7 separate regions of the Homo sapiens genome follow, and all the other regions are linked to region 1. Evidence: promoter capture Hi-C in 16 types of primary human blood cells and fetal thymus (Javierre and others, 2016). All regions are on one chromosome and are shown on one strand. Each heading gives the region's core, a stretch centred on a gene start or on the middle of the fragment in contact. The rest is flanking DNA. Distances are from core to core; before and after follow the strand shown. Region 1 holds the start of DNAJB11 (DnaJ heat shock protein family (Hsp40) member B11). Region 2 overlaps ETV5 (ETS variant transcription factor 5). Region 3 overlaps IGF2BP2 (insulin like growth factor 2 mRNA binding protein 2). Region 4 has its middle 25 kb from the start of RPL39L. Region 5 has its middle 7.6 kb from the start of TRA2B. Region 6 has its middle 53 kb from the start of TRA2B. Region 7 holds the start of RPL39L (ribosomal protein L39 like).

Region 1 (3,764 bases), core at 972-3,471:
CACTTTTACAAGCAGAACTCATATAAAAAATCTAGATTTTCAACTTTTCTTGAAAAATTAAATCATCCAGGAACATACTGTTTGCATTTGTATGACAAAAACTGGCTGGGGTTGAGTAACAGCTGCTCCCTTGAAATGGGGCCAGAAGGCTTCAGTTTGTCAAAGTCCTCAACAATCCTTATTGCTTCCCAATATGGAGGCAGAATATCTGCTGCCATGTTTTAACTTATACCTGCCCTGCATGTTATTTGTCTAGTTCATATGAACATGCAGGTTTGCAACTCTCATGAAGGCTTTCTTTTTATTTTTGGTTCTAGCTCCCAAACTGATTGAACGACAGACCAATCAGTTGATCTACTTATTAATCTATAATAAGTTCAAGACTAGCCTGGCCAACAGGGTGAAACCCTGTCTCTACTAAAAATACAAAAATTAGCCAGGTGTGGTGGCATGCACCTGTAATCCCAGCTACTTGGGAGGCTGAGGCGGGAGAACTGCTTGAACCCAGGAGGTGGACGTTGCAGTGAGCGGAGATTGCACCACTGCACTCCAGCCTAGGCAATAGAGACTCAGTCTCAAAATAAATAAATAAATAAATAAATGTGAGCTGAAAGGAGTGTTTCTCTGTATTGTATGTTTTTTCTAGAGCTACAGATTTTATTCGTACTTTATCACTTTTCCCAACTCACCTCATAAGCAGCACCCAGATCCTGGAATTTCTCCTGGGCTTGTGGATCATCAGGGTTCCGGTCGGGATGAAGCTGCAGGGCTAGTTTCCTATAGGCCTTTTTAATATCCTTTATAGAGGCACTTCGAGGCACCCCCAAGATCTTATAGAAATCTCGTCTGGGAAGTAGAGGGAGAGAATACTTCATTAAAGAGTTACATGTTACATTTTTCAAAGTAAAAGATTTATTTTTCCTCTACATTTAGGTTTGTATCTGAGCAAAGAGGTATAAAAATGAAGGTTTATGTGACACATACACACACAAAGAATGACTAAAGAGAGAACACCAGAATTTGTAATGAATCTTATATATTGAAGTAATCACAGTAAGAGGCTATATACTTCTTTTCGGATTATTCAAAACATCTGTGGCACTTTTCTTTCAGAACCACCTTCGGTCAAGAAAACCACTTCCTTATTTTATGGTCTCATGTTATCTTTAGGCAATAACCATATAATCAAATTAACTCTTCCCCCCTTTCCCTATACTGGCTCCAAATGATTTTGACTTTTCTAAAAGTCAAATAACACTCTCAAAGGATGATTTTCCTTCTTTAAAAAGATTATGCCACATAAATGTCCTAACAGTAGCACTGCCAGAATGTTAAAGATGAAGCAACTTAAGATAATAAATAGCTCAAGAAGCTGGGAAGTACAAGGGCTGTCTAAAGATCTTCTTGTTCCCATCCCGCATCCAATTTCGTTCAGTCCCAACTCGGGCTGGCATCATCCACCCACTTTAATGTCAGCCCCAGAATGGCTCTTCGAAGGCTTGGCATAGAGCATCGTCCGCTTCTCCACCTCAGCGGGGCACAGCAACTCACCTCTTTGATCAAACAAACGTCCATCCCCTCAACCTCAGCCTGGCACTGTCACTATCTTTCCTTACAGTCAGGCATCCCTCTTTCTTCCCCAGCTCTACGTGACACTGCTTCAGCTCGCAACCACCTTCTTTCCCTCATCCCCCAAATGCCGTTTGGCAATGCATCCAACTCCCACTCCTCTGGGCAAATCTAGCTCTACCTAAGACCCTCTCTGGACCTAAGGCCCTCTCACTGGTGTCACCCACGGTTCTCCTCTCACCCCACTAGCCTGGCCCATACTACCCCTTCCTCCGCCACCCCGCCAACCCACAGCGATGCCCCTCTCCACTCCGTCAGTCTGGCAATGCCACTTCCCCCACCCCCTCCCACCCCCCAGCAAAGGCTGACCCACAGGCCCCGTTGTCTGCGAGTGTCTGTTCCTCACCCGGCAATCACCGCCCCGATGAGGTATAGCAGCAACAGGCAAAAGGTGCTCAGGTTCTGCGGAGCCATGGTTCCTCTGTCCCGGGTCCTGTTCCACACACTCCTCACAGCCTCCTCCGCCGCCGCGTCGGCTCGCCAGCCCACCCGGCCCTGTGAGGCCGCCTCACACCGGGGGGGCGCGGGGGTCTCCTTGGTCCGCAGAGACAGCTAGCTAGCCCCCTCTTCTGCCGGTCCACTTCCCGGGAGTCCCGAGTCCCGGTGAGAGAAGCCCCCGGTAGGCGAGAGCCAATCGTTGCCCGGGACATCACACGCGGCCGGCGCCTGGAAGCCAATCAGCGCAGTACACTTCACCTCCGAGGCGGCACGGGCAACCAGTTAGGCTTCAGAACTGCAGTCGCAGCTCTTGACCAATTAGAAGCGGAGACGTCAGAGGGTCGCGCCGCTGCAGGAACCCGCTCTGCCTGAGCTACCGCGAGTCGTAGAAAATTACGTAATGATAGGGGGCCGGTCAGAGTGAGGGCACCTGAGGTACACGAAATCCCTCCGGCTTGCCCACTTCCTCGGACTTTCCACCAATCAGGAGCTTCCTCCCCAGCACCAACCAATTGTGGGAGAGAAGTTTTCTCTGTGCTACAAGCCCGGAATTTCATTCATACCCAGCTACGCTCCGAATGAGGGAGCAGAGGTACAGCGGCCGAATGAGCGGGAACAGTTATTCCACGACAGGTGTACATCAGACGCATTGCTTAGGCCTCTTATTTTACGTTCTCCAAGCAACTCCATAAGACAACTGTCTCGGAAAGGCTACAGTGATGACAGACCGACTTAAGTTCGGATTCGGCTTCCACCGCTTCTTAGTGGTGAGACCCCCCACCCCTCCCCTCCTCCCAAGTCTGAGCCTAAGTTTATCAACAAAACTGAGGCAAAGCACTTATTGGCAGTTCTGTGAATTTTAACAGGGAAAAAAATCGGTAAATCATCGGGCGTATAGTAAGCAGGCAACGAGTAAAAACCATTATTACGGTTCAAGCAGAACTCTTTGATTCCCCATCTTCCCCCCGATTTTGCTCATCGCAGTTACACAACACCTAGTTGATCAGGACAAAGCTCTAGGTGTTTTTATTCCTTTCATGCATAAGCTATCCAACTCTTTACCTCTGAACTATACTTCAATCTGTTCACTACATCTCCATTACCAGGATTCTGGGTCACAGTGTATCTCTCACCTGGCCAGGGCCTCCTAACTGGCCTCCTTGCCCCCACTCTTAATATCTTCCTTAATATCTTAATATATGTTGCTCATCCCTGTCCCTCACTCCATGATTTAAAAAAAAAAAAAAAAAGCCCGGGCGCGGTGGCTCACCCACCCAAAGTGTAATCAGCACTTTGCGAGGCCGAGACGGGCGGAGCACCTGAGGTCAGGAGCTTGAGACCAGGCTGGCCAACATGATGAAACCCTGTCTCTACTAAAACTACAAAAATTAGCCAGGTGTGGTGGCGAGCGCCTGTAACCCCAGCTGCTCGGGAGCCTGAGGCAGGAGAATTGCTTGAACCTGGGAGGTGGAGGTTGCAGTGAGCCGAGTTCCTGCCACTGCACTCCAGCCTGGGCGACAGAGTGACACACCGTTTCAAAATAAATAAATAAATAAATAAATAAAAAATAAAAGTCAAATCATGTCACTCCCCTGTTTAAAAGCCTGGAATGGCTCTTCATTTGCACTTAGAATAAAATCCCAACTCCATGCTAGTTTACAAAGCCGTTTATGCTTTGTAAACCTATTATACTCCTA
Region 2 (3,806 bases), core at 177-2,676, 520 kb after region 1:
GAGGTCCTTGAACAACCAAGACCTTCTGGTTCTAATATTATAATGCAGAAAACCCATAGAAAGGTAGTTAGCGGTTCCCTCAGTGTAGCAGAGCCATGCGGTGAGTCATTTAAAGCTGCAGGTAAGCCAAAAGCAATTCTTTTCAGCTTTGGAACATACTTAAGGCTTCTGCGCAGGCTCGCTCTCATCAGATTTCTAACCTTTCTAAATAACAAGGCCATACTGTGAAGACTGTAAACTCTGGAAGTGACTAAAAATGTGGTCAGGCTTCTGCCTTGCACCTGTCAGTCCTTAAACCTTTTTGGAACACCAGACTCCAGGCTCAGCATAACCATGCTTTCAAAGCTGTCACTGGAAGACAGAAAGTGAAGATTTTCTTTTAAGAGTCCATCTAGTGTGAATTCGAAATTCAGATATCTTCTTTTTTAACTGCTGTAGTGTCAGTAAAACACTTGGCAGATAATAGGTTCCCAGGAGTTCTCAAAATAAGTCTGAGTGATTGGGGTAATCGGCTGCTCCTTTGGTCCCTGGCTTTGTGACTTAGGAATACCTCGTTCTCTTCCCCTGATCCCATGCCCTGTTCCAACTGGGCCCTGTAAGGTGTGTGTTCTCCCGCAGGTGGCTGGAGAGCGATACGTCTACAAATTTGTCTGTGACCCAGATGCCCTCTTCTCCATGGCTTTCCCGGATAACCAGCGTCCGTTCCTGAAGGCAGAGTCCGAGTGCCACCTCAGCGAGGAGGACACCCTGCCGCTGACCCACTTTGAAGACAGCCCCGCTTACCTCCTGGACATGGACCGCTGCAGCAGCCTCCCCTATGCCGAAGGCTTTGCTTACTAAGTTTCTGAGTGGCGGAGTGGCCAAACCCTAGAGCTAGCAGTTCCCATTCAGGCAAACAAGGGCAGTGGTTTTGTTTGTGTTTTTGGTTGTTCCTAAAGCTTGCCCTTTGAGTATTATCTGGAGAACCCAAGCTGTCTCTGGATTGGCACCCTTAAAGACAGATACATTGGCTGGGGAGTGGGAACAGGGAGGGGCAGAAAACCACCAAAAGGCCAGTGCCTCAACTCTTGATTCTGATGAGGTTTCTGGGAAGAGATCAAAATGGAGTCTCCTTACCATGGACAATACATGCAAAGCAATATCTTGTTCAGGTTAGTACCCGCAAAACGGGACATAGTATGTGACAATCTGCATCGATCATGGACTACTAAATGCCTTTACATAGAAGGGCTCTGATTTGCACAATTTGTTGAAAAATCACAAACCCATAGAAAAGTAAGTAGGCTAAGTTGGGGAGGCTCAAACCATTAAGGGTTAAAAATACATCTTAAACATTGGAAAGCTCTTCTAGCTGAATCTGAAATATTACCCCTTGTCTAGAAAAAGGGGGGCAGTCAGAACAGCTGTTCCCCACTCCGTGGTTCTCAAAATCATAAACCATGGCTACTCTTGGGAACCACCCGGCCATGTGGTCGCCAAGTAGAGCAAGCCCCCTTTCTCTTCCCAATCACGTGGCTGAGTGTGGATGACTTTTATTTTAGGAGAAGGGCGATTAACACTTTTGACAGTATTTTGTTTTGCCCTGATTTGGGGGATTGTTTTGTTTTGGTGGTTGTTTTGGAAAAACAGTTTATAAACTGATTTTTGTAGTTTTGGTATTTAAAGCAAAAAAACGAAAAACAAAAAACAAAAACAAACCTTTTGGTAACTGTGCACTGTGTCCTTTAGCCAGGGCCGTGCCAACTTATGAAGACACTGCAGCTTGAGAGGGGCTTTGCTGAGGCTTCCCCTTGGCCATGTGAAAGCCCGCCTTGTTGCCTGCTTTGTGCTTTCTGCACCAGACAACCTGATGGAACATTTGCACCTGAGTTGTACATTTTTGAAGTGTGCAGGGCAGCCTGGACACAAGCTTAGATTCTCTATGTATAGTTCCCCGTGTTCACTAACATGCCCTCTCTGGAAAGCATATGTATATAACATGTGTCATGTCCTTTGGAAACCTGGTCACCTGGTGAAAACCCTTGGGATTCTTCCCTGGGCATGACTGATGACAATTTCCATTTCATCAGTTTGTTTTGTTTTCCTTTTTCTTTAAATCTTGGACTTTAAACCCTACCTGTGTGATTCAGTAGGGTTTGAGACTTACGTGTGATACTGACAGGTAAGCAACAGTGCTAGCATTCTAGATTCCTGCCTTTTTTTAAAAAGAAATTATTCTCATTGCTGTATTATATTGGAAAAGTTTTAAACAACCAAGCTAAAGCTATGTGAAAGTTGAGCTCAAAGTAGAGGAAAAGTTACTGGTGGTACCTTGCTGCCTGCTCTGCTGGTAGAATTCTGTGCTCCCCGTGACACTTAGTACATTAAGAATGACTACACTGTTCCTCGTATGTGAAGGAGGCAGTGCTGACTCCGTGAGTGTGAGACACGTGCTTTGAACTGCTTTTCTATTCATGGAGCACTCCATAGTCTCAAACTGTCCCCCTTATGACCAACAGCACATTTGTGAAGAGGTTCGCAGGGATAAGGGGTGCACTTTATAGCTATGGAAACATGAGATTCTCCTCTATTGGAAGCTAATTAGCCCACAAAGGTGGTAAACCTGTAGATTGGGCCTTAATTAGCATTGTACTCTAATCAAAGGACTCTTTCTAAACCATATTTATAGCTTTCTTAACCTACACATAGTCTATACATAGATGCATATTTTACCCCCAGCTGGCTAGAGATTTATTTGTTGTAAATGCTGTATAGATTTGGTTTTCCTTTCTTTACTTACCCTGGTTTGGATTTTTTTTTTTTTTCTTTTGAATGGATTTATGCTGTCTTAGCAATATGACAATAATCCTCTGTAGCTTGAGCTACCCCTCCCCTGCTGTAACTTACGTGACCTGTGCTGTCACTGGGCATAGGACAGCGGCATCACGGTTGCATTCCCATTGGACTCATGCACCTCCCGGATGGTTTTTGTTTTTTTCGGGGGTTCTTTGGGGTTTGTTTGTTTGCTTCTTTTCCAGAGTGTGGAAAGTCTACAGTGCAGAAAGGCTTGAACCTGCCAGCTGATTTGAAATACTTTCCCCTGCGCAGGGCCGTATGCATCCTGCCAAGCTGCGTTATATTCTGTACTGTGTACAATAAAGAAGTTTGCTTTTCGTTTACCAAGCACCCGAACCTGCCTCTTTCTTGCCCTCATTGGTCTAATTTTAAAGCAGGCAAAAGCCCCCTGGCTTTCTCTCCGCCCCCGCCCTAGCCCTCTCAACAATTTAGCCTTACCAATGGACAGTGGCATCGAGGGTAGTTAGGGAACTCTGTTACCTGGAAATAGATGTGCACAGCTCCTCTTAAACTCCAGCTAAAAATTTAATCCAAAGAGGTGGAAAGTCGAGAGATCCTCTTCCCAGCCAATGGTGAGCTGAGATCACCTCATCCCCTTGAGCCCACCAAGCCACCAATTCTTAGTAACTCTTTTTTTAAGTGTAGCCCATGTTTCGCTTTGGGTTGTGTGAAAAGATTACAAAGCAGTCTAGGACTTTCGAGTCCCAGAATTATCCTCAGCCCCTTATGTGGATACTTTGAAAACCAGTAAGAACTTAAGACCATTCATTTTCTAATTTTTCCCCAATAAGTTTTGCTCTTGACAAGTGAAAAATCAATTAATGGTTGATAAATAACGAAAAAAGCTCAGGAAGGTTTTGCCCACTATGTTTTTTTCTGGCCGTGCAGCAGTAAAAACCTCCTCCTCCAAGTTTGTCTCTTTCTCGTGAATATGTATCACTCGGGAAATACGTGGAAGGAAATAAAGTTCG
Region 3 (3,367 bases), core at 122-2,621, 750 kb after region 1:
GCTGCCAAAGGGAAGAAGGAATACAATAATTATTTCTTTAATTTGGTTTAGAGTTTGATGGTATATTGAGATAGAATAAGTACAACAGTGAAAATGGATGCTTTTGCATTAATAGGAGGCATTCAAGCCCAAAAGCTAGCCCTGTTCCATCATTTGATAGTTATGTCTCCTCCCCAAGCCTCTGCTTTTCACTAAATAATATCTGTATTTTTGAGATACATTTTGTTTATTCCTCATTATTTATCTGTTCTACACTTTATTTCTTAAAATGTGAACATTCAGATAGGATTTTCCCATTCTGTTTAGTGTCAAGGACATTTCATAAATAAAGCAGATATTTTAATAAGTCTGATAAATGAAAATTAAGAGTTCTGATGTATGTTTTGAGCTTTCTCTTATTTACCCATATCAAAATAAATGTTGCATCTAATGACCAGAAAAATTTGTATGGGAACATTGCAATAAGAATTATATTTTCAGTTTTTCTTATTGTCATGTAATTAATGTGTCTCAAAGTAAGGATTTGCTGTAGTGGGAAGCTTGAATTTTTAAATTTTTGTTTTAAATGTGATCAGAAAGGTTGATGATTTCATGTATTGATATTTAAACAATGGTAGTAGTATTATCTCAGGGAGGAGTATTTTTTGCCTGCATCTTAATATTCATACAGTACTGATGCTGTTCCAGCCTCTTTGACACATTATTTCATTTATTCCAAATAATAATTTTGTGAAAAATAGGACAATTGATACTATCTCTTTTTTTGGATGAGGAAACTCAGCCCCAGACAAGCTTAATAATTTGTTTAGGCCACATGACTGTTAATTAAGTAGTAGGGCTAGAACCCAGGTCTTTTGAGGTCCCTGAGTCTCGCTCCACTGTACTTCCTCCCCATTTAACGTTTTACATTAAAGAAGTCAGCTGAATGTGTTGTAAAGTTCGAAGAATGCTGTTCGAGGGTGGTAGAAATATATGAAAATACATTTGTGAATTGAACCTTTGCAATGATGCTACATCAGTCTGAGTGATCTGTACTTTGCTATAGTTTTTAGAAAAAAATAGTTAGAAATAGAGGTAATTTTAAAGGTAGCATTGCACGTCTTCCCATCTCTGTGCTTGCCCACAGACAGAAGTGGGGAATATACCTAAGCAGGTTGTGGGGTTGTTGTTGTTGTTATGTTGCTTTTTTCGGCAGTTGTGTTCCTGACATAACAAGACAAACATTTCTTTCAACATCTGAGCCACACAGATTAGACAGCGAACTGTCACCCGGGTCAAGACTATGTGCCATGTGGTGAATGAAAGTCTAGCTCAAGGAATCTCCTGGGTGGGTTCTTCACGGGGTTCAGACAGCCTGTTGCAAAGGTCAGGGCTGTGTTGTGGTTTACGTGTTTCCCTGGTAGGAACTGCCAGGTCTTTCCCAGAGGTGGTATCTTTCTCTACGTCACTTTCTGTACTGAATAAGGCCTTGGGCCTCTCATACTGTCTTGACTATGGGGTGAGTGTTAATAGGGATAGTATCCATAAAGTTCTGAGTTCTTTATTAATTTTATAATCGCACAAAAAAATATGCTAAATAATGAAGCATGTGAAGTACAGTTCATTTCCCCTCAACTGTAAACTTTTCCTGCATTTATCTTCGTTTCCTTTAACTCTTATGGACTGTTTATGGTGCTGGTGGGAGGGAGAGAGGAATTATCAAGGAAAAAAAAATAGGTGAAAGAAGGTTATTTCCAACTCCCCATGCATTTCTTTGAGTTAGTACAGTCCAGAGTGGGATATGGCATTTTCCGTGGAATTCTGACTCAGGAGATGGGGGAGAGGAAGAGAGTTAACTAATACTGGGTGGCTGCTACGTGCTAGGCACTGGACTAGGCTTCCTGTTTTATCCTCCCCACAGCCTGAAGAGATCCGTCTTTATCCTTCTTACACAAAGGGCTCTAAAGCTTCAGACTCTAAAATAACTCCTTGCTCCTGACCAGAACTTCAGAAGGCAGTGGCTTGTTGTCCATCTCATTTGAATACTGCAACAGAACCTTAGCAATGAAGTAGAAAGTTGTGATAATATGTATACAGGCTATAAAGTAACTTTGTATATTATTCCTAACTTAGAATAAGAGAAAATTTCCATATATAAAACCTATGCTGAGAAAGATTAGGAACTCAAGTTCAGTATATTTTTAATTTAATATAATTGAAAAGAATTAAAAGTGTTAGTCATAATTTGAAAGAACTTCCTTGAAGTAGTCCTATAGTAGAAGCATTTATAATTATATAAAGAGAAAGAGGTTTTTTTAAAAATCATTGTGGTTGACAGTTAAGTGTAAAAAACATACATGTATGCAGTGTGGGAGGAGGGCCTGTTCCATGCCTTTGACCCAGATATATATATTTTTTCAAATCCTGAAAAAAAACTTGAGGTTTTTTTGTTTAGGATACAGAATGTTGCACAAAGATTGGCATGCTTTCATTTTTATATGTATTTTTAAAAATATCTGTGTCTTAGAGAAGGAAAATAATGGAATTTTTGTAAATTGCTTTTTAGAAAATGGTTCACCTTATTAACAGAACATTTTAAACCTCTTTGACACGTGAAAAAGTCAGTGAAAGCACTTTTTGATACAATACTTAAGTATCTTATGCATTTGTTACTTTTATCTCATGCATTTTGTTACTTTTTTGGTTTAGTAACATAGGACTTAAGATACAGTTAAACCACCAATGAAATGAGATATATAAGAGGTTTTCTTCTAGATAGACGCCATGCTTTTTGACAAGAACATAATTTTATATAATTTATGAGATAAAATAATTACTTTCCTCAGTCAAGAACCTCTAATAGAGCTTTAAAAATTACCAGGAAAGACATTTTTATTACTATATCTTTTCTTTCTCTTTGAAAAATGAAACAAAAAATCGAGTGGTGATTCTTTGGACAGGTTAACCTCATACCAATTCATTAAATAGAGGGTGTTTTTGAAAAAGCTCATGTGAGGATAGGCTATATAGTATTTTTGGATTACATGGAGACCTTTTACTTTGGTCCCTACTGATCCTTGTGATTTTTAACAATGCATACTTCGAAATTTCAGTGGATGTTTTTCTTTATCATTGTATGAATAAGGTTTTGAAGTACAATGTTTTGTGCCCCTTTATTTAAGAGAGTCAGAGGTAGATGATAAAAGCAGTTTAACACTGAAAAAATGCAGTTGAGCCTCTTAAATTATTAAGAAAGAAGGAAGGGAGGAGGGAAAGGGAGGGAGGAGAGGAGAAAGGAGGAGACCATAGAAGTGTAGGTGACTAAACCATGTGTACATCTTCTGCATTTTCTTTCTATACTTCCAGAGCACGTGGCAAAGACTGGTCC
Region 4 (3,269 bases), core at 327-2,826, 540 kb before region 1:
CTATAGTAATTGAGCTAATGTAGGCTTGGTGAAGTAAGATAGACAAGTAGAATGAAGAAACAAGACAGGAAATTTAAAAAATAGATCGATGCATAGAGGATCAATGAACTTTTGACAAAGGTGCAAAGGCAATTCAGTGGACAAAGGATAGTCTTTACAACAAATTATGCACATCTACATGTTAAAAAAAAAACCCACCTTGATCCATATCTTGTACCATATACAAAAATAAACTCTAATGGGATCATAGACCTAAATGTAAAATCTAATGGTATAAAGCTTCTAGAAGACAGCATAAAAGAAATATTCTTAAGTTTGGGTGAGGCAGAGGTGTCTTAAATATGACAACAAAAACACAATTCATAAAATTAAAAACTTGATAAGTTGGACTTTATTAAATTTAAAATCATTTCTCTTTAAGACATTAAGAGAATGAAAAGTAACATCAGAAGCAGAATATTTGCTCTCTCTAGATATCTCTGTATACTACATATATCAAATAAGAGCCTTATATCCAGATTATAAAAAGAACTATCAAAGTTCAATAATAAGGAAACAACAATTTATAAAACAGGCAAAGAATTTGAACAGACGCTTCATCATAGATGATATGTAGTTGGCAAATAAGCACATTAAAAGAGGTTCATAGTGATATGCAATTAACATCATTTTTAGGATATACAAAATAAAGCTACAGTAAAATACCACTATTGACCTATAAGAATGAATAAACAAAAAAAAAAGCAAAAGAATACAGTTGACAATAGCAAGTGCTGTCAAGGATGCAAAGCAACTGAAATTCTCATACATTGCTGGTGGGAATAAAAAATAGGGAATAGTTTGGGCATTTTTAAAGTTAAACCTGTATTTACTCCTGGAAAGCTTTCTTCTTCTATTACAGTTCTGTTTTTGTTTTTTTAGGGACAGGGTCTCACCCTGTCACCCAGTTCAACAGTTCAATTATAGTTTTAAATGATAGTTACATTGTTTGCTATTTCTTCTTCATGTACTCCAGTTATACCAGTGTTGCTTTGGACTGTCTTCCCTGTCAATCACTTTCTTCCTGACCCATTTCACTTCTTTATTTCATTTCATTTTCTTGCTTGTTTGCCTTTGTTCAGTGCCCATATTAAATTTCCATCTGAGTACATTCTCCTTTGGGTGCTATAGCGAGGTGATGATGACCACGCCCACCCCCACACCCCAAAAATGTCTACTCAGAACCTGGGAATATGATCTTATTTGGAAAAAGGGTCTTTGCAGGTGTAATTAAGTATCTCAAGATAAAATCATCCTAGGTTTTCTGGTTGAGCCCTAATTCCAATTCCAAGTATCCTTAGAATAGAAGGAGAGAAGACACATAGAAACGATGGTAATGTGGGAAGGAAGGTGGAGATTAGAGTGACGCATCTATAAACCAAAGAACAACAAGGATTGCTGGCAGCCCCCAGAAGCTATGAAGGAGAGATAGAGCAGACCCTTCCCTCAGAGCCTCGGGAAGAAACAAGCCCTGCCAGCCCCTTGATTTGAGACCTCTGGCCTCCAGAACTGTGGGAAAATAAATTCCTATTGTTTCAAGCTCTCAGTTTATAGTAATCTGTTAAGATAGCCCTAGGAAACCAATATAAGTACCCTCTTAAAATTTATGTTTCAATCCTAAGATTATTTTTCTTTTTCTTTTATTTTCTTTCTGAGTTCAATCAACACACTGTTCATTACTTCCCATTTTTTTCTAAATCCATTTATATTTTAATTTCTGATTAAAGATAGTTTTTCAGGCCAGGCGCAGTGGCTCATGCCTGTAATCCCAGCACTCTGGGAGGCCAAGACAGGTGGATCACTTGAGGTTAGGAGTTTGAGACCAGTCTGGACAACATGGTGAAACCCCGTCTCTACTAAAAATACAAAAATTCCCTGGGTGTGATGGCGCCCACCTGTAATCCCAGCTACTTGGGAGGCTAAGGCAGGAGAATCTCTTGAACCTGGGAGGTTCAAAAAATAAATATAGTTCTAAAATTTATGTTTGAACCTGGGAGGTTCAAATATATACATATATACACACATATATACATATATATACATATATACACATATATGTATATATATGTATAGCTTTTCACATGTCTATACTTGTTTGAGGTTATTTGAGTCTGGAGTGTAGCATTGCAGTTTTCCTCTGCTTCATGGTCATTTTTGTATTTACCTCCCTTGGAGTGGTGGAAAATTTTTATCACTTGAGGTGTGTTGAGTCTCTTTCTTTAAGAAGCTTTGCATAGATTTATTCCATTTTTTGTAATTCTTTTTGTGGATGTGGGCTAATTTACAAGATTCTTCATTTAATGGTGCCCTCTTCTGTCAATGTGGTGAAGTACAGCTTCTTTAATGATTGTGTTTTGGTACTTGGGGGAGGAATAGTGTGTCTTCCAGGAGATATCCAAGCCTGTTATGCACACCAAAAAATATAAAGCTCTATCTTAAAGGCTTTACCTTTCAAATCCAGTATAGTTGAAATTTATTGTCTCTGAAGGAAGAACCTCCAAGAGCACACAACACGGTGTCCTTGCATTACTGTCAGGTGATAACTTCACATTTCCTTATATGGCATGTTTCCTCTGAGCCATCCATTCCCACCTTCACCCTGCTGCCTCCTCCCATGTGCCCTCTCTCTCTAAAAACCACGTTCTGGTATGTCCCACAAAAGCAAGGAGATGTAAACTAAGAAAGAAGCAGTGTGAGGGAAAAAGGAACAAGATTCACAGAGGAGCAAAGGAAATTCCTAAGATGATGATGAAATGAAGTTCTAGGAGAACACTTGTTTAATGTAGGGTTAGAGATCACCAGTTCAGGAGAGACAGCGCCCCCAGAGACTCCCCTCCAAAATGAAGCTTATAGGCCAGGCGTGGTGGCTCATGCCTGTAATCCCAGCACTTTGGGAGGCCAAAGCGGGCGGATCGCTTGAGGTCAGGAGTTCAAGACCAGCCCGGCCAATGTGACAAAACCCTGTCTCTACTGAAAATACAAAAATTAGCCAGGTGTGGTGGCACACACCTGTAGTCCCAGCGACTTAGGAGGCGGAGGTGGGAGAATTGCTTGAGGTAGGGAGGCAGAGGTTACAGTGAGCCAAGACCATGCCACTGCACTCCAGCCTGTGCGACAGAGTGAGATTCTGTCTCGAAAGAAAGAGAGAGAGAGAGAGGAAGGAAGGAAGGAAGGAAGGAAGGAAGGAAGGAAGAAGAAAAGAGAAGAGAAAAGAGAAAGAGAAAGGAAGG
Region 5 (3,763 bases), core at 368-2,867, 620 kb after region 1:
TAATAAGATTTTAAAGAATATCCAGTTTTATATTTGTATATTCAACTGCCTACTTGACAACTTCTACTTTGATGTTTCAAAGCATCTCAAACTTAATTCAAAATCAAACTCTTGTCCCTTTAGCCCTGCCCAAACTCCTTCTTCCTCAAGTTTCCCCATCTCAGTATGGGGCACCATAGACCCTCTTGAGTTCTTGACATCTCCATCCCCTTACCCTATTACAAGTCCACTCAATTCTGGACTCAAAATAGATCTACCACTGCCCTTTTTTCTCTATCTCCTTTGCTATTACTGTGTTGCAATGGTCTCTTACCTGGACAAATGCAATAGCTTCCTAACTGGTATCCTAGCTTTTACCTCCTTCCAACCCATTCTCCATCCAATGGGGAATGTAATCTTATAAAAATAAAAACTGAGTCAAGACATTCCCCCTAATTAAAACATTTCGATAGCTTCCCATTGCATTTATTTAATTATTTATTTATTTTTGAGGCAAAGTCTCACTCTATTGCCCAGGCTGGAGTGCAGTGGCACGATCTTGGCTAACTGCAACCTCTGCCTCCCGGGTTCAAGAGATTCTCCTGCCTCAGCTTTCCGAGTAGCTGGGGTTACAGGTGCCTGCCACCACGCCTGGCTAATTTTTGTATTTTTTTAATAGAGGCGGGGTTTCGCCATGTTGGCCAGGCTGGTCTCGAACTCCTGACTTCAAGTGACCCATCCACCTGCCTTGGCCTCCCAAAGTGCTGGAATTACAGGTGTGAACCACCGTGCCCAGCCCCCACTGCACTTAAATAACATCTGACATCCTTTCCATGACCTGCATAATCACTGCTGACTTATTATGAGTTAGACATTGTTCTAAGGGCTTTTTATGTAAAATAGTAATTCTTTGGATCCTGACAACAAGCATAGGAAGTAGGTATTATTATCATTCCTATTTCACAGATGAAGCCACAGAGGCACAGAGGTTACACTTGCCCAGGGTCTCTCAGAGAGCTACTGTGGAGGCAGGAAACAACCCCAGGAAGTCCAAGCCCTGCTCTCTGTACCACAGTCTCTGGTCCTCAGATGGACCCACTGGGATCCCATGGTTGGGTCTCTCTGTTCCTGGAACCCGACAAACATCCTCACCCCAGTGCCTTTGTGACCTTGCTAATCCCTTCCCAGGAACACAGTTTTCTCTGCTTTTTAAATGGCTGGCTTCTCACCCTCCAGGTCTCCATAAATAGGAATGGTATAATAGGTTATGGCACATATTTGCAACGGAATACCATACAACTGTTTTAAAATATGAGATAAATCTATGTGTACTGACGTGGAACAATATTTAGCATATTTTAGATTGCTAAGTGAAAAAGGCAAGTTACAGAATACCATGTTAAAATTTAAAAATATGAGCGGGGCATGGTGGCTCATGCCTGCAATCCCAGCACTTTGGGATGCTGAGGCGGGTGGGTCACCTGAAGTCAGGAGTTCGAGACAACAGCCTGAGCAACAGAGTGAGACTCTGTCTCAAAAAAATAATAAATAAAAATTAAAAAATAAAAAATATGTATAGCATGATTCCATTTGTTTATGAAAAGAAAATTTTAAGGCTGGGCTCAGTGGCTCATGCCTGTAATCCCAGCACTTTGGGAGGCCGAGGCGGGTGGATCGTGAGGTCAGGAGATCGAGACCATCCTGGCTAGCATGGTGAAACCCCATCTCTACCAAAAATACAAAAAATTAGCCGGGTGTGGTGGCAGGCACCTGTAGTCCCAGCTACTTGGGAGGCTGAGGCAGGAGAATGGCATGAACCCGGGAGGCGGAGCTTGCAGTGAGCCGAGATCTTGCCACTGCACTCCAGCCTGGGAGACAGCAAGACTCCGTCTCAAAATAAATAAATAAATAATAAAAAAATAAAAATAAAAATTTAAATTTATCTATCTAAGGTCTAGAAGGTTATGCACTACATTTTTTAACTAGGGTGACCTCTGAGGAGCGAGACTGGGAAAGAGAGGATAGAAAATAGGGTTTGCATTTTTCACTTTGCACATTTCTTATTGTTTGAATTTTTATCCCCACCCTATATTAGTAACATAATAATAATTCTAAGACAAAACATTTTCTTCATATGTTTAATGTTTGAGCTCTAAATTTTGTTATTTGGGTATTCTAATTTTTATTCTCTTCCTCTCTTTCCCAGATTTATCTTAAGTATCTGGAGAAAGTCTTTTATTTCATTCTTCTCTCTCTCTCTTTTTTTTTTTATTTTTTTGAGAAGGAGTCTTGCTTTGTCGCCCAGGCCGGACTGCAGTGGCGCTATCTCGGCTCACTGCAAGCTCCGCCTCCCGGGTTCATGCCATTCTCCTGCCTCAGCCTCCTGAGTAGCTGGGATTACAGGTGCCCGCCACGGCGCCCGGCTAATTTTTTGTATTTTTAGTAGAGACGGGGTTTCACCGAGTTAGCCAAGATGGTCTCGATCTCCTGACCTCATGATCCGCCCACCTCGGCCTCCCAAAGTGCTGGGATTACAGGTGTGAGCCACCGCACCCGGCCTCTCTCTCTTTTTTTTTTTTTTTTTTTTTTTTTTTGAGACAGAGTTTCACTCTTGTCACCCAGGCCGGAGTGTAATGGTACGATGTCTGCTCACTGCAACCTCTGCCTCCCAGGTTCAAGTGATTCTCATGCCTTGGCCTCCCGAGTAGCTGGGATTACAGGCATGCACCACCACGCCCGGCTAATTTTTGTATTTTTTAGTAAAGACAGTGTTTCACAATGTTAGCCAGACTGGTCTCGAACTCCTGACCTTAGGTGATCCACCTTTTTTAGGGTTCAGAACATTGAAAGTGATTGGTTGTTTCAACTCAATTATCTACAATACGTAGCCATAGTCAGCATAGTAACTCAATGTTGTTCTTAATTTCCACTCAGTCCTAAGCTGGTTCGTGAAGACCTGCCTTAATGAAGTCTCAAAGTTTTTGACTTCCACATTCATACTTCCAAGTAGTGAGTGGGTGTTCAGTCACTTTTTATACAGAGATGCATTAGTTCTCTGAGAGCACTCCTACACCACTCCCTTGAAGATCTCACTTACACAAAGTAAGGTTTCCTTGACTATCTCTATACTAGTAATTTCATTTCCGTATATTCCACCCAGCTATCCCCTGAGCCCCAGACTGCTCTAACCAGTACTCACTTGATGTCTCCATTTGGAGATGGTACCACTGATACCATTAGCTAGGAAGAAAAATGAGGTCAGGAGGGATAAAATGATGAGCAGTTACTCTAGCTTCCGTTTCTCCTTCACCTCCACATCTCAGTAGTATTTTGAGAGACCACTCCTGGCAAAAATTCTGAATCAGTCTGTCCATTCTGAATTCTGATGTCTCCAATCAGGAGAGATCAAATACACAGTAATTTGAATAGGGGAAGTTACATATATGTAATTACTAACTATAAGTTAGTAATAGGGGTACTGAGGTAAGTGAGGATGGGGTAATGACGGATTAACTAGTAAGAAGTAAAGAGAACTCTTAATAATATGGGAATAGCAGGTACAAGGAGGAGCCCTAGCTCTAGGTCTGAGATAGAGTGCCCAAGAAGAACCTCCTTTTCCCTCAAGAGCTCAGATTCAGACTTTGGAGCGGGCACAGCCATGGATCTCTGGAACACAGAAAACTTGCCGTGATGCCACACTGGCAGAACTTCATGAAAACCTGCCCCTGGGATTTTCCAGAAACCTTTAAGGTGTCAGGGACAGTTGTTTATGGGGTGCATCTCA
Region 6 (3,704 bases), core at 1,039-3,538, 580 kb after region 1:
AGTCAGAGGAGCATGGAAAGTATTTTTCTTTGGTAAACAAATATTTCAGTGTTGATGCTGAATTAAATCAGAAGCTCCAAGAATACAGGTGTCATTCATTTATTAACAGAATAGAAGAAGAGAGAAGGCATGATTCTGGACTGGCTCCTTCTAATGAGAACCAAAACTGATTCATCCCCAGCAGCTAGAGAAAAACCAAGCTTTGGGGAAGACAGGCAACACACATTCTTCAATGTCTATTATGCATCTAATTCTTTTAAAACACTATTGTTGGCGGGGCGCGGTGGCTTACGCCTGTAATCCCAGTACTTGGGAAGCTGAGGCGGGCGGATCTCTTGAGGCCAGGAGTTTGAGACCAGCCTGGCTAACATGGTGAAGCCTCGTGTCTACTAAAAATACAAAAATTAGTCAGGCATGGTGGCTCCTATCTGTAATCCCAGCTACTCAGGAGGCTGAGGCAAGGGAATCACTTGAACCCAGGAGGCAGAGGCTGCAGTGAGCCAAGATCGCACCATTGCACTCCAGTCTGGGCAACAGAGTGAGACTCTGTCTCAAAAAACAAAAAAATTCATTAAATTCCCAAAATGTTTCTATAAAGCAGCTGGTATTATGCCCATTGCCCAGATGATGAAGTTGAGGTATAGAAAGATAGTCCCATGCCCAGTGGAATGTGTAAGCAAACTTTGCTGTAGTGAAGTTCAGACTGTATAACAACATTCTTATTTTGAGAAGCCAGAGGAAAAAAATGATGTTGATTCCTGTAAATTTGTATGGGACTGCAGTTTTCCAAGCACACTCACATGCATTATTTTCACATCATACTCAGAATGGCTGTGTGAGGAGAATAGTAATATTCCCATTGCAGAGATGGAAGAATTGAGAGTCAGGGAGAAGAAAGGATTTGGCAGCCAGAAACAAGATTTGAACATCGAACTGAGTCCAGACCCAGTGCCTTTTCCATGGAAGAAGGCTCTGTTTTTATATGTAAATAAAACCTTCTATAGCGTTTGATAAGAAAGAGAAGGGCATTCTCAGGGGAGAGGGGATCAGGAGTAAAAAGGTCTTTGGGGAGAACTTAGGATGTATGATTTAGAGTCTGAGGTCCACACGGCCAGGTTACACTGATACACAATGGTGTCATCATCACATGCCAGCCTGGAAGCCATGCCACCTGGACTTGAACCCAGATTCTGCCTTTTAGCACTCATGCCTCGGTTTCCCCTTCTGTCAGTGGTGCTAATCATAGTACCTGTACCTCCTTCATAGAGAATGTTGTGAAGAGTTAACATAAGAAAAGTACTTAGAAGAGGGCCTGTTATTTAAGATAAATAAGCTTAATGAAGATGTGCTATTATTACTATCATTGTTACTACTACCTCTTCCACTAGAGGGTCCTGGGAATGAGGCTTGGTTGACAAGGAAGGCCTTAGAATCTCAGGTTACAAAGTTTGAACCCAAAGGAACAAAAGTAAGAGAAGGTCAATTTTAGTTGAAACAGGATAAAAGTGTTTAGGACAATGAAACCAGTAGGAGTGTGTAGGCCTCCCCAACACGTCTCTCCATCTGGATTACGGTCCCAGCTAAGGGCTTCCTCCATCATCACACTCACCCCAAGACACTGTAGTTGCCTGTCAATTACCTGCCTCCCCAGCTGGACCATGTCTGTGTTACGGGTGCATCTAGTGTCTAGCGCAGTGTCTGGCACTAAGTGCTCCACAGATGCTCTTCTGATGAATGAAGGAATAGATGAATGGAGTAGAATGATAGTTTAGAAAAGGAAGAGTCTATGGGGATACCAGCCCAGGGGCAGGCTCTGGGCTAGGATGAAGATAGAGGGAGTGAGAGAAAAGTAAGAAATGCAAGAGGCATTTGGAAGAAAGGACAAATAGGAATTTGTGAATGACAGACTATGGGAGTTAATGGGAAAGGAAGAGTCGTTGACTGCAAGCCTGGGCTCCTGGATGCTGGCAGTGGCCCTGTTAAAGATGAGAAGAAAGAAAGAAGTTGGTTTGAGGGAGGAGATTTGCCCTTGACTTTACCCTTGTTGAGCTTTATAGAAGTTACTGGTGGTAGCTCACGTCTGTAATCCCAGCACTTTGGGAGGCCGAGGTGGGTGGATCACTTGAGGTCAGGAGTTCAAGATCAGCCTGACCAACATGGTGAAATCCTGTCTTTACTGAAAATACAAAAATTAGCCATCTGTGGTGGTGGGCACCTACAATCCCAGCTACTTGGGAGGTTGAGACAGGAGAATCACTTGAACCCCGGAGGCAGAGGTTGCAGTGAGCTGAGATCACGCCATTGCACTCCAGCCTAGGCAACAGAGTGAGACTCTGTCTCAAAAAAAAAAAGTAGTGGGGGTAAATGGGGTAACACAGGGCAGCGTTGGGTGAGAGGTGTTGGCTGGAGATGGAGAGTTGAGGAGAACCGATTTGGTAACCTCAAGGAATACCTCTTTTTCTGGAAAAAGGGTAAGTACCAAGGTAGTAGTGGGCTGACCAGTCAGAACCTTGGAGGAGCCCTGGGGAAGACAGGCTGAAATAAAACACAAGCAAGAGGAGGGAATATTCACCAGGTGTCTTAAAAGAAGAAGGGCAGCTCTTAGCTCTTAGGACCACTTGCTCCCCTTTTCCTTTCTTCGTCAATCCACCCTTTGCCCAAGACTTGCCAATGGAAGAATTGAAACAGAAAGGAAGGCCATTTTATATCAGAAAGCCGATTTAGCTTAAAGTGAAGCATAAGAAGAAGAGCAAGCCATTTCGGGTTTTGTTGCTGTTGTTGTTGGTTTGTTCAGTTTCCTGGAACCATTTTATTATAATCATGGCTATCATGAACCCATAACTTCTCCTTTCTGAGTTTCTACAGGAAAGCTACCACTGCTGGGTTCTCAGGAGGACAAAAGCACAAGACCATTTCTGCACTTTTCTGCTTCCTGCTGGTAGGTGGGAAATCAGGGAACAGAAAACTAATGCTCATTCACACTATGGTACAATGGAAAGAAAATTGGCCTTGGAGTCGAATAATCTTAGGTATGCTCTGCAAGGAATGGGCTGACTCCGCACCTTTCTGGGCTGGTTCCCTCAAACACTGCTGATAATGATTCTGAACTCAGGAGATGGTTATGATGACTGGATAAAGGGGTTAAGTACCTTGCACAATGCAGATGCTCCAGGCACACCAGCTCCTGGTAATTCTTGCTGTTTCTCACAGGAACCTCACAGGCCTCTGCCATCTGCAAGCTTCAGACGAGCCACACAAGAGAGGCAAGCTAGGAGCTCATCCCCAAGGGAGCTTTCAGACTCATGGTTTCAAAGAATTTTCACTTTATTACACATTTGTTCAGGCTTCAGTCTGATTTGACTAAAATGTAAAGACAGGGCCGGGCACAGTGGCTCATGCCTGTAATCCCAACACTTTGGGAGGCCAAGGTGGGCAGATCACTTGAGTCCAGGAGTTCAAGACCAGCCTGGCCAACATGGCAAAACCCTGTCTCTACTGAAAGTACAAAAATTAACCAGGTGTAGTGGTGCATGCCTGTAATCCCAGCTACTCAGGAGGCTGAGGGAGGAGAATTGCTTGAACCTGGGAGGCGAGGTTGCAGTGAGCTGAGATTGTGCCACTGCACTCTGTTGCCTGAGCAACAGAGCGAGACTCTGTCCCAAAAAAATAAAATAAAATAACATGTAAAGACAACCTCACATATT
Region 7 (3,617 bases), core at 280-2,779, 570 kb before region 1:
CTCGTGAATATATTAATGCCCTCTCTGGGGGATGGTGACTTCGCACTCTTAGTGCTTTCGTGATATGGTTTGGCTGTGCCCAACTCAAATCTCATCGTGAATTGTAGTTCCCATAATCCCCATGTTGTGGGAGGGACCCAGTGGGAGATAATTTAATCATGGGGCAGTTAACCCTCATGCTGTTCTTGTTATAGCGATTGAGTTCTCATGAGGTCTGATAGTTTTATATGGGGTTTTTCCCCCTTTTGCTCAGCACTTCTCCTTGCTGCTGCCATGTGAAGAAGAACATGTTTGCTCCCTCTTCCACCATGATTGTAAATTTTGTGTGGCCTCCCCAGCCATGGAGAACTGTGAGTCAACTAAACTGCTTTCCTTTACAAATTACCCAGTCTCCAGTATGTCTCTATTAGCAGTGTAAAAATGGACTAATACACCTTGAGAGCTGATATTTAAAAAGAGCCTCCCTCTCTACTCTCTCTTGCGTCTTTTGCCATGTGATCTCTGCACAAGTTGCTCCCCTTTCCCTTGCACCATGAGTGAAAGCAGTTTGAGGCTCTCACTAGATGTAGATGTGGGCACCATGCTTCTTATACAGCCTGTGGAACATGAGCCAGATAAATCTTTCTTCATAAATTATCCATCCTCAAGTGTTCGTTTATAGCAATGCAAATAGGCCAAAACAGTGATATAAAGATAAGGAGGTTTTTTGTTGTTGTTGTCTTCAAAGTTACTGACAAGGAATACAATGGGGTGTTAAGATTTGACACACACATTATTTCAGGAAAATAAATTTTAAAATCATATCCCAATGTCATTATTTGAGCATCAGCTGTAGTTGGGTAGTAAAGTGTAATATCAGGCTTTTGGCAACTAGTTGCATTGTTCATCAACAACATTAAGTCACCAAGCTTAAAACATCACAACAATGAATTTAATCAATGAACAATGAAATGTTATCAAGACCATTCACAAAATTAAAAGCAGGCCTGGCGTAGTGGCTCACCCCGTAATCCCAACACTTTGGGAGGCTGAGGCAGGTGGATGACCAAAGGTCAGGAGTTCGAGACGAGCCTGGCCAACATGGTGAATCCCTGTATCTACTAAAAATACAAAAATTAGCCAGGCATGTTGGCATGCACCTGTAATCCCAGCTACTTGGGAAGCTAAAGCATGAGAATTACTTGAACCTGGGAGGCGGAGGTTGCAGTGAGATTGTGCCACTGCACTCCAGTATGGGCGATAGAGACTCCTCAAAGAAAAAAAAAACAACTATATGAATTAAAGCTTACATTAACAACAAATAAGAGTTTGAATGTGTTATCCTGCATATGGAAATCAGATAGGTCTTTGAAGAAAAACTGCAACCTCCGCCTCCCAGGTTCAAGCGCTTCTCCTGCCTCAGCTTTCTGAGTAGCTAGGACTACAGGCACGTACCACCACGTTTGACTAATTTTTGTATTTTTAGTAGAAACAGGGTTTCATCATGTTGGCCAGGATAGTCTCGATCTCCTGACCTGGTGATCCACCCGCTTCGGCCTCCCAAAGTGCTGGGATTACAGGCGTGAGCCACTGCATCCGGCCAGAAAAACATTTTAAAATACTTTGTACACTATTTGAAATGACTATGGAATGCTTGTTTCAATCAATAAAAAAAAGAAATATGAAATGTGAAATGCTTGTTTCAATCAATAAAAAAAAGAAATGTGAAATGTAAAATTTAATAAAATTTAAATTTTAGATACATTTAAAATGTCAAAGTCCTCCTTAAGCTTCAAGAAAATAAAATCAATCTCCTTAAAATGAACAAATTATGATGAATTCGTCAAAAATATTTATATTGTGTTAACCTCATTTACCAAGACATTTCAAATTTACATCTTTGTGTCTGTTAAAGACAGATTTAGAAATACACTAATTTTATTCAAATACAGTTTTTAGTTATGATGATTAGATTTAAAGATATGTGTGATCGGTCAGTTTATGATTATGTAGAATAACATGTCAATATTTACAGGATAATGCAGGTAGGTAAGACACCTGTTCTACTATTGCATGATTTCATGATTTAACTGGTGTAATTAGGAAAGGTTTTAGATCTAATTCGAACTGTCATATCCACTTTTTTTTTTTTTTTTTTTTTTTTTTTTTTTTTTTTTTGAGATGCAGTCTCACTCTGTTGCCCAGGCTGGAGTACAGCTCATTGCAACCTCTGCCTCCAGGGTTCAACCGATTCTCGTGCCTCAGCCTCCTGAGCAGCTGGGATTACAGGCACCCGCCACCACGCCTGGCTAGTTTTTGTATTTTTGTAGAGACAGGGTTTCATCATGTTGGCCAGGCTGGTCTCGAACTCCTGACCTGAAGTAAACCACCCACCTTGGCCTCCCGAAATGCTGGGAAGATATACTTCTAATAACAGCATTTCCAACTACATTACTTGGTTGAAACAGTTGAAACTGCCATTGCAGTTGCAGTAAAGGTAACAAGAGGTAAACTTCTAATATGTAACAGGAGATTTGACTTTTCTCATATGTAACAGGAGATTTGACTTTTCATCTAGAATTAGAACCAAAATCGTTAAATTTGTATAGATATTTGCATTAGCAGAAATCCCATTTTGTTCATGTTGTTTTTAAATAAAGTGACTCGTTTAAAATTTAGTTGCATTTTAAAAATCTGTGTTATGGGAGTGGTAATACTGACTCCAGGCAGGGAAATGAGACAATTGTTAGAGACGCAGGGATGGAGCTGAGAGGTCCTCCTGGTCTCCAATGGCCCGGCGGTGGCTCGATGGGAGGGAGAGCGCCCCCTGGAGGCATTGGCGGTTCCTGGCTCGTGTGCTCGCGGGAACCCAAGCTGTGAGCCTCTGGCCCCGCCAGGGCGTACGAATCCTTTCCTCGTTTATCCAGTATTAAGTCACGCTGTGTGCTAAGTACCGTGGCCAGGCAGCAGCTAGACAACGCGCTGAGGTAAAATAGAGAACTAAGGAAGAATGGGGGACCCCAAAGTCAACTTGGTGACACATCACACGCAGGAGTCGGACCCACGGCTCCCCGAGCCACAGCTCAGTGGGGCGGGACCGCCCGGGCCTGGGCGGGGCCGGGGCGGGGCCTGTCACGGGGGAAATCACCGCCCTAGCATCCGGGGAAATCGCGGTCTTAGCATCCGGCGCGCGGCGGTTGAATTGCTGCGCCCAGCGAGGCAACCGCCTCCGAACGCCAGGTGGGGGCGAGGCGTCTCGGAGTCTCAGAGACACCAAGGCCCCTGCGACAAGGTGGCTGCAGCTAGGCCGGGGGCGTCAGGACGACGGAGCGGGTTCGGGTCGGTGACACGCAGACCTGAGGGAGCTGGGCCCGCCTTTTCCGCCCGCGCCCCAGGCCCTTGCAGATCGAGATTTGCGTCCTAGAGTGGGAAAAAAGCAGAGGCCAGGGCGCCGGTAAGTAAAGGTTCCTCCTCACCCGCCGCCAGGGCCCGGTCCGCCCAACGAGCAGGGCGGCGTGAGGGTCACGGGCTGGAAACAACAATGCCACAGCTCAAGCCGACTCCAACAGTAGTAGCGTTTTTGTTTGTTTGTTTGTTTGTTTGTTTTTTGAGACAGGGTCTCCCTCCGTCGCCCAGGC

The links. Contacts are between HindIII fragments. The CHiCAGO score rates a contact against its expected background, and 5 or more counts as called.
Region 2: a contact is called between a fragment that was not itself captured here and the fragment with the promoter of DNAJB11 in region 1, in 1 of 17 cell types (total B cells). The highest score is 5.4, in total B cells.
Region 3: a fragment that was not itself captured here is called in contact with the fragment with the promoter of DNAJB11 in region 1 in 1 of 17 cell types (fetal thymus); the score reaches 5.1 in fetal thymus.
Region 4: a fragment that was not itself captured here is called in contact with the fragment with the promoter of DNAJB11 in region 1 in 1 of 17 cell types (total CD4 T cells); the score reaches 7.1 in total CD4 T cells.
Region 5: a contact is called between a fragment that was not itself captured here and the fragment with the promoter of DNAJB11 in region 1, in 13 of 17 cell types (non-activated CD4 T cells, naive CD4 T cells, fetal thymus and 10 more). The highest score is 25.1, in non-activated CD4 T cells.
Region 6: a contact is called between a fragment that was not itself captured here and the fragment with the promoter of DNAJB11 in region 1, in 1 of 17 cell types (activated CD4 T cells). The highest score is 7.4, in activated CD4 T cells.
Region 7: a fragment that was not itself captured here is called in contact with the fragment with the promoter of DNAJB11 in region 1 in 5 of 17 cell types (non-activated CD4 T cells, total CD8 T cells, naive CD4 T cells and 2 more); the score reaches 7.9 in non-activated CD4 T cells.

Annotation. Positions count from the first base shown.
Region 1 is chr3:186,569,177-186,572,940 of GRCh38, reverse strand. DNAJB11 (DnaJ heat shock protein family (Hsp40) member B11) reads right to left here and starts at 2,221. Exons shown (of 10, transcript NM_016306.6): 1 at 1,976-2,221; 2 at 690-846. The coding sequence starts at 2,043. It also overlaps a transcript of TBCCD1 not described here. RefSeq lists a silencer at 1,970-2,209. The HindIII fragment of the contact is 6,099 bases long and covers 1-3,764 here.
Region 2 is chr3:186,045,673-186,049,478 of GRCh38, reverse strand. It overlaps ETV5 (ETS variant transcription factor 5), which reads left to right. Exons shown (of 13, transcript NM_004454.3): 13 at 619-3,165. The coding sequence ends at 840. Among named protein-coding and RNA genes, the nearest start is that of ETV5-AS1, 32 kb to the left of the region's middle. The HindIII fragment of the contact is 971 bases long and covers 941-1,911 here.
Region 3 is chr3:185,814,079-185,817,445 of GRCh38, reverse strand. All of the region lies in intron 2 of IGF2BP2 (insulin like growth factor 2 mRNA binding protein 2), which reads left to right. Among named protein-coding and RNA genes, the nearest start is that of IGF2BP2, 9.3 kb to the left of the region's middle. The HindIII fragment of the contact is 1,154 bases long and covers 795-1,948 here.
Region 4 is chr3:187,112,480-187,115,748 of GRCh38, reverse strand. No RefSeq gene overlaps it. Among named protein-coding and RNA genes, the nearest start is that of RPL39L, 25 kb to the left of the region's middle. The HindIII fragment of the contact is 1,384 bases long and covers 885-2,268 here.
Region 5 is chr3:185,943,739-185,947,501 of GRCh38, reverse strand. No RefSeq gene overlaps it. Among named protein-coding and RNA genes, the nearest start is that of TRA2B, 7.6 kb to the right of the region's middle. The HindIII fragment of the contact is 4,953 bases long and covers 1-3,763 here.
Region 6 is chr3:185,989,147-185,992,850 of GRCh38, reverse strand. No RefSeq gene overlaps it. Among named protein-coding and RNA genes, the nearest start is that of TRA2B, 53 kb to the right of the region's middle. The HindIII fragment of the contact is 1,906 bases long and covers 1,336-3,241 here.
Region 7 is chr3:187,139,029-187,142,645 of GRCh38, reverse strand. It overlaps RPL39L (ribosomal protein L39 like), which reads left to right and starts at 3,150. Exons shown (of 3, transcript NM_052969.3): 1 at 3,150-3,433. RefSeq lists a silencer at 3,010-3,239 and enhancers at 3,280-3,429, 3,470-3,569, 3,438-3,617. The HindIII fragment of the contact is 485 bases long and covers 1,287-1,771 here.